Linked DNA regions of Homo sapiens: region 2 is linked to region 1. The links are contacts of gene promoters, found by promoter capture Hi-C in blood cells and fetal thymus (Javierre and others, 2016). All regions are on one chromosome and are shown on one strand. Each heading gives the region's core, a stretch centred on a gene start or on the middle of the fragment in contact. The rest is flanking DNA. Distances are from core to core; before and after follow the strand shown. Region 1 holds the start of LOXHD1 (lipoxygenase homology PLAT domains 1). Region 2 overlaps LOXHD1 (lipoxygenase homology PLAT domains 1).

Evidence for each region. Contacts are between HindIII fragments. The CHiCAGO score rates a contact against its expected background, and 5 or more counts as called.
Region 2: a fragment that was not itself captured here is called in contact with the fragment with the promoter of LOXHD1 in region 1 in 2 of 17 cell types (megakaryocytes and M2 macrophages); the score reaches 6.5 in megakaryocytes.

The regions. Positions count from the first base shown.
Region 1 is chr18:46,655,695-46,659,851 of GRCh38, forward strand. It overlaps LOXHD1 (lipoxygenase homology PLAT domains 1), which reads right to left and starts at 1,526. Exons shown (of 41, transcript NM_001384474.1): 1 at 1,210-1,526. The coding sequence starts at 1,339. RefSeq lists enhancers at 1,774-2,723, 2,534-2,583. The HindIII fragment of the contact is 3,833 bases long and covers 137-3,969 here.
Region 2 is chr18:46,555,732-46,559,535 of GRCh38, forward strand. LOXHD1 (lipoxygenase homology PLAT domains 1) reads right to left here. Exons shown (of 41, transcript NM_001384474.1): 20 at 3,717-3,804; 21 at 1,625-1,758. Among named protein-coding and RNA genes, the nearest start is that of LOXHD1, 100 kb to the right of the region's middle. The HindIII fragment of the contact is 3,708 bases long and covers 1-3,183 here.

The DNA.
Region 1 (4,157 bases), core at 276-2,775:
ATCTCAGCTGAGACTACCTCCTCTAAGCCCAGGACTGTGCAGGGGCTGAATGATGAGGACTAAAGACAAGTACAGCAAGGCCCCACCCTCACGGAGTTTAGGGTGACTGTGGCTGCAAGCCGGACACAGCTGGACAAGCTTTGCAGGAAACAATGGAACAATTATGAATTGGATGTAATCAGGGAACTCATGGTGGACTGGAATCAAGGAGGGCTTCATGGAAGAGATGGGATCAGAACTGGGCTTTCAGAGTGAGGACAGGAAGAGGGAGAAAGGGGAAGACAAACAAGGCCATGGGCAGGCACAGAGCACACATTCAATAAATACTTGCTGAATGAATGAATGAGTGAATGCATGGATGACTATGGCGCTTACGGGGACTGGTGAGCCACTTTGGAGTCAGCATTGAGAATTTAAATGGCTTCAGAGACTAGGCAGGCAGCACTGATGAGTAAACCAGACCTAGTATGAGATGACAGGGAGTGGTGGAGACTGTGATAAGCTGGACGTCCACAGCCTATTGGCATTCACAGAAAAAAGGATTTCAAAACGCTGGAAAGGAAAAAAACAACTTAAACTCTGCTGGCCAAAACCAGCTCTAGGGTCACAGTTCACTTCTTTGGTTTACCTGGCAAGGAGTTAGAGCAATTTCAAGCAGGTCTCATGTGGCCCAGGGAAAGATGAGACTAGAAGGACAAGGCCCTGGGGTCCAGAGCACCGGCCGCCTTCGACATATGGGATGGACATCTCCTTGCAAAGCCCCAGGCTCCCTGTCTCCATCAACCACAGTGGGCATAGGATGAGCTGTCAGGCTTCCTCCCCAAGACATCCTTTCATGACCCCAGCAGTTCAGGGCGCTCTGCCTGATGCAGACCACCTACTCGGGGACCAGACTGGAACGTGGCTTTGGGGATGTTCAGGAGCTGGAGAACATGGGGCCATGGGGGCACTGTGGCTCTAGTCTATTCTGTTCCACTGAGAATCGGGGGCTAAAGGCAAGTTGCTCCACCTGTCTGTACAACAGGGACCCCACCATCCCTGCATAATGCCTGCCTTCTTACTCCGAGGGGATATGGAACAGACACATGGGATAATCAGTGAGGAAGGGCTTGCTCCGAAATCTTAGAATGACTCCCCATAGACAGGAACAGACCCCTGCCCACCGCAGCCAGCTGCACCACCCGCCCCCCGCAGGCTGGGACCCCGCACCTCTGGCCTTGTAGTACTCGTGTTCCAGCTCCCCCTCGTCGTCCTCCGAGGCGTAGTTCAGCAGCTCCGCTTCGTACAGGGCCAGGAAGTCGATGTCCTTCTTCCTCCGCCTTTTCTTCTGGGGCATCATTCTGTCGGCTGCCTTCTCCCAGCGCTCGCAGGCTCACTGTGCCGCCTCCTCACACCTGCGGGAACCTGAGACCTCCTCCCTGAGCTCTGGCGCCCACGGCCCTCCTATAGCTCAGGCCTGGGTGGGCCAGAGTGCCCCGTTTTCTTGGCTTCCCCGTGCCCAAGGTGCTGTTCCCTCTGCCTTCTCTGGCTCCTGAGCTGAACCTCAGTGCCTTATCTCTGAACCTCCTGTCCCTGTCCCCTCCCACCACCCTCTGGTGAGCCACCTCCTCCTCCTCTGTACCTGCCCCGGGGCTTCTCTTTGGGCCTCATCACTTATTCATGGCGCTGAGGGCAGGCTGACTTCCTTCCTCTCTCCCCTCCCCACCAGCCCTCTCTCCTCCCTATGGAGAATCAGGTGACACGGAGCCCTTGAAGTCCATTTCCCACCTGGCCTCACAGCCAGGGGGTCACCTGGGATCCCTCCAGGCCACCCCAGGGACAGGTGAGGGCTCCTCACCCAGGAGATCTCCCAAGCCTTACAGCCCACACGGGACCCTCCTGAGGAAGGCGGGGCCCCGGAATCAGCCAGGCTCCCAGGACTCAAAGGCCCCCGTTTCTCTCCATTATTCATGACCTCTGATCGTCTTACGGAGCAGGCGGGGTTCTCGCTGGATCCTTCTCGTTCTCTCTCTCTGCTTCCATCTCATCAAGACTGCGGGCTTCCGGAAGTGGCCTCTGGGCACGAGGAAAGCTAGGGCACCAGAAAACTCTCCCCGCTCCCCCTGCCAGGTGAGCTTTATATGCACTAAAGTTTAAACATCATCGTAGCCGATGCCCTCCCAGGTGAACTCACTAACTAGATCAGCTCACCACCTGGACTCACGGGAGGGCATCAGCAAGCTCCTACCCCAGGGCGCACAGCCCGGGCTGCACACCAGAAGCCCCCAGAGAGGTGTTGAACGCTAATGCGTGGGTCCCATCCCCAAGGATTCTGATTTGCTTGGTTTGGGACGCAGCTTGGGCCCCAGTTTTTAAAGCTCCTGGTGACTTTCATGTGCAGCCATGTTGAGGGTCCCTGAATCGCTTCTCAGGTAACTTAGGTGTGCTAACAGGAGTCCTCTAGAAGCAACACGTGTGATTTTGTCCTCTAAGCCAAAATAGTGACTCTAAAGGGGAATTTCAGGTGGAGAGGAAGAGAGGATTTGGAGCGGACGCCTGAGGAGCAGTCGGCACTCACAGGCCTCCCCGGCAGCCTGGGGCAGCTTTGGTCCTGCCCTGCTCTTTGGAGCCATCCAAATCTTCCACTAGGGGGAGGCATCTCTAACCCCGAACGTTCCTACCCAGGAAAGATCAACCTCCCCTCTTCCCCTATTCAGCTGAGGGGCCGCCCTTGAAGCAGCTCAAAGTCCTCTGAGGACCAGGAGTGAAGTTTAATGGTGGGTGGCGCGCGCCCCCTTCTGGCAATATGTGGTTTACACACCTGGATTCTTCAGGAAGAGACCTTCCTTAAGGATCTCTAGGAATCTACTAAGAAAACTCATTTTACACGAGTACCCATTCAGGGAAAAGATAATAAAACGTTTCTTAGAATTTTTTTTGAGACGGAGTCTCCCTCTGTCGCCCAGGCTGGAGTGCAGTGGTGTGATCTCGGCTCACTGCAACCTCCGCCTCCCGGGTTCAAGTGATTCTCCTGCCTCAGCCTCCCGAGTAGCTGGGATTACAGGCATACGCCACCATGCCCAGCTAATTTTTGTATTTTTAGTAGAGACAGGGTTTCACCATGTTAGTCAGGCTGGTCTCGAACTCCTGACCTCGAGATCTGCCCACCTCGGTCTCACAAAGTGCTGGGATTACAGGCGTGAGCCACCGCGCCCGGCTGTTTCTTAGAACTTTAAAAGCTGAAATCAAAATATTTTTAGAGAATCCCATGGTACTGGAACACACTGGCTAGGAGGTCAGGGAAATAATTCTATATTATTTCTGTATTATTTCAAGGTTCTCCAGACAGACAGAACCACTAGGATATACAGATCAGTAGATATATGACAGGAGGCTTACTAGGGGCGTTGACTCATGGGATTATGGATGCCGAGAAGTCCCACAACAGGCAGTCTGCACGTTGGAGACGTAGGAAGGCTGGTAGTGTGGTGGGTCCAAGTCTGAAGGCCTGGGAACCTGGGAAACCCGTGGTGTAATTCTCAGTCTCAGGCCCAAAACCTGAGAACCTGGTGGTGAGCGGGTGATGGAGCAAGTCCCAGAGTCCAAAGACTGGAGAACCTAGAGTTCTGATGCCCAAGGACAGGAGAAGAAGGGTGTCCCAGCTCCAGGAGAGAGATAAAACATTCACCTTTCCTTTGCCTCTTTGTTCTGTCGGGGCCCCCAGCCGATTGCATGGTGCCCACCCACATTGAGGGCACAACCAGTCATGTTGACACCAAAAATTAACCCTCACAAATACCAAGAGTTCATAGGGACATGAGCAGCCAGAACTCTCATACTGCTAGTTGGAGTGTAAAATGGTGCAGCCACTTTGGAAAATAAAGCAAAGCAAATACTTCCCATGCAACCCAGAAATTCCACTCCTTGGTATTTACCTAAGATAAATGAAAAAGGATATCCACACAAGATCTGTATGTAAATATTCATAGAAGCTTTATTCATAACCAAAAACTGGACACAACTCAGGCATTCATCACCTGGCCAGTGGGTAAACAAACTGAGGTACATCTGTACAGGCAATAATACTCAACAATAGAAAGGAAGGGAGTCGGGAAACATGCTACAACATGGATGCCTCTGGAAAGCACTACGCTAAGTGCAGAAAAGCGGTCAGAAAA
Region 2 (3,804 bases), core at 80-2,579, 100 kb before region 1:
TTACACCCAAGGGGCAATGAGGCCTAATGAAAACACGTTCAATTCAACATAGACAGTCTGGAGTTCTGGTCCTAGCTGTGGCACTGACTGATTATGGGGCTGTGGCTTCACCTCCCTGGGGTGTGGACCTATGGGAAGACATAACACTCTCTTCCCAGCCCAACTCATGTGGCAGCTGTGAGCCTCCACCAGGGGTCAGCAAATTACGGCCTTCAGGCCCAATCGGGCCTACCCTGCTTGCGGACATCCATAAGCTATGCATGGATTCACATTTTTAAATGGCTGGAGGAAAAATCTAAGGAAGGATAATATTTTTTGACATGTGAAAATTATATGAATTTCAAATTTCAGTGTCCAACACTGAAATTTGAAATTCATATAATTTTCACATGTCAAAATGACACAGCCATGCCCAATCATTTAGGCATCATCTATGACTGCTTTTGTGTTACACCAGCAAAGCTGTTGTTCCAGAGACCAAATGCTTGCAAAACCTAAAATATTTACTATCTGGTCTTTACACAAAATGTTTGCTGATCCCTGGTATAGAATATTAAAAGAATGTACTAGAAGTTGCTTTATACGTTGAGAGGCTTATGGGTGAGCTATGCCTAGGCATGGAAACTGGACCAAGGAAGGTCTGACAGGGATTGGAAATCCTGTCTCTCTAAACAGATGGACCTCAAGAGTTGCTGGTCTGGGGGATCTATTGGACTGTCATCTCACAGGGCAGGTGACACTAGGGGCTGCCAATGAGAGAAGAGGGAGAGAGGCAATGCCCATCCAGCCTGCAACGTGGGCAAACCTGCTCTGGTGGCCATGACAGGCAACACAGCCAGCCCACCCTCACCCTCAGATGTCACGCAGCCCACTCTCAGCCTCAGACATCACAACCAGCCCACCCTCATCCTCATACCTGCCCACCCTCATTCTCAGATGTCATCCAGTCCACCCTCACCCTCGGATGTCACAGCCAGCTCGCCCTCATCCTCCAGTGTCACAGCCAGCCCACTCTCATCCTCCAACGTCACCCAGCCCACCCTCAGTCTCAGACATCACAGCCAGCCCACCCTCACCCTCACACACACCCACCCTCATTCTCAGATGTCACCCAGTCCACCCTCACCCTGTGACGTCACAGCCACTCTGACCTTCCAGTGTCACAGCCAGCCCACCCTCACCCTCCAATGTCATCCAGCTCACCCTCAGCCTCAGACATCACCACCAGCCCACCCTCACCCTCATACTCACCCACTCTCATTTTCAGATGTCACCCAGTCCACCCTTACTTTTCGACGTCACAGCCAGTCCACCCTCACCCTCCAATGTCACACCCAGCCCACCTGCACCCTCAGACATAACCCAGCTCACCCTCAGCCTCAGACATCACCCCCAGCCCGCCCTTACCCTCATACCCGCCCACCCTCATTCTCAGTGCACCCCAGTCCACCCTTACTTTTGGATGTCACGGCCAGTACACCTCACCCTTAGGTGTCACCCAGCCCACCCTCACCCTCCACCGTCACAGCCGGCCCACCCCCAGTCTTCTTCCAGGACTACCTCTGTGGCAGACATGGCCTCCCTCAGAGCAACACCCCTCCCTGCCCACTGCCCCCACACTCACGTGATCTCGTTGTTCATGTCAGTAATGTCTATTCTGTCCAGGAACCAGCCTGCTCTGTTGCCTGTGTTGTCGTGGCGAATCCGAATCTTGGTCAGGGCCCCCAGGTCAATGGCATAGATGGTGAAGGTGTCTGTCTGGGAAGGGCCAGGGAACACTCAGTGGGGTAAGACCTACCCCTCCCCACATGGCCATCAGCCCCATCCTCCCAAGAACCAGGGCAGCCAGCCAGAGGCCAATGGTGAGACCCAAAGCAACCAGGAGTGGGGATGATGGAGAATGTCACTTAGTAGTCTGGTGTTTGGTCTGCACAATTGTTTCCCTAACTTGTCCCTGCCAGGAGATCTTCTCACTCTCATGTCCAGGAAGGTGGAAGGAGGAGAGGAAGAGTGAAGGTGACCTTGAGAGGCAGAAGAGAAGATAGGTTTGCTGGATGCCCACATCTGTGGTGGGTGTTTTGTGTGCAAGAGAGGGGGGTGCACTGAAACCCTCTGCAATGTGTGCAGGTGTGTGCATAATCTGCTTCAATCACATATTTGTATTAAGTACCTGCTATGAGCTGGTGCTGTGCAAATCCAAAGTGACTGTCAGAAACTGAAGACGGATTTGCCCACCATTTAGGTGTGAAGAGGGCCATATGGATCACACCATGTGAATGCACACACTGCTCCATGCACGGGAGGAAGCAGACCACACCAGGAACCTATAAGTAAATGGGGCCTTCTTGGATATAACTTTTTTGACTCTTAATTTTGAAAAAGATTTTAAATCTACAGAAAACTTTCAGAAATAGTATGATGAAAGTTCATATGCCTTCATTTAGATTCTGCACTTATTTGTAACATTTGCTTTCTCACTCTGTCATCTCTCTTGCACTCTCTCTCTTGCTGTATGTTTTTCTAAATCATTTGAAAGTAAGTGGCAGATACCATGATTCTTCATCCCTAAATTCTTCAACATGGATTTCCCAAGAACAAGGATATTCTCATATAATCACACTAGAATGATCCAATTCAGAAAACTTAACATCAACATAATGCTATTATATAATATACAGTCCATGTTCAAATTTTACCAGTTGCACAAGTTATGTAGTCCTCTATAGAAATTTTTTCCTAATCCAGAAATATGTGGCTATAATTTTTAAAGGAGAACACTGAAACGCAGAAATAAACTACATCCTCAAGTCAAGGGGAAGATTCTTTAAAGAAAAAGCAGGGGGCCCCTGAAATAAATCAAGAAATGAGCCCAGAAATATGTTAATTAATTTAGTTCATTTTTAAAAAATCTGTGTTAATGAGAGAATTTGGCTTTCGGGTAGAGGCAGGAATGGGAAGGGTGAGATAAGAGATAGTTTTCTAGCCAGGGGATATTATAAAATCTTGAAGGGCAAAGATGACGGCTTTATTTTTCATGACTTTCCCACTACACCTGGAAGAGTAAGGTATGTGTATTTCTTTTCATGGATTCCCACTGCATTAGGATACAGTTCTGGCTTCTCAGCTTGTCTCTTAAGCCTCTCATGACCCCACCCACCCCACACCCTAAATTGTTCTTATCCAAGCTTATCCACTGGGGCTTAGCACCGACCACAGCTCAGCTGGAAGACACACTGTCCTAAACTGGCCTCCCCCATTTCCACCTCCATATCTTTGCTCATGTGGTTCCATCTTCTGAGAACATCTTCCACTGTTGCCTTTATATGTCTACACCATACTCACCTGCCAAGGCCCAGTTTAAGTTGCTCCCTCCCCCTAGTTTTCCCCCAAGACACCATCTTGCGGCGAGGACTTCCTCTTGAACCCCCGCATCCCTACCAAGTGCCTCAGCATCTGCCACTCAACGCCATTCTCTGTTTGTTCCTGTGGGTCAGCTGGCCCATGGGCTCTAGGTGCTGGGGCCCTGCCTGCAATTCTCTCATAACCCCTCCACAAAGTATCAGTGTTACTGAAGAGGTACTGCCATGAAACCTGGTGGGATGAACAAGTCACACTGCCAAACACAGCAGCCATTGTGCTGCGATGGGCTGCCATGGGAATCTCAGAGGGCACCAAACCCACAGCCCCCACCCAGGGGCCAGAGACCCTCACCCTACCTGCCCCTGCTCAAATTTGTTGGACTTGTCTGACTTCTTCAGGGGTCGTTCGCCCGTGTCTCCATACTCCTCGCCGTAGATGGTTAGG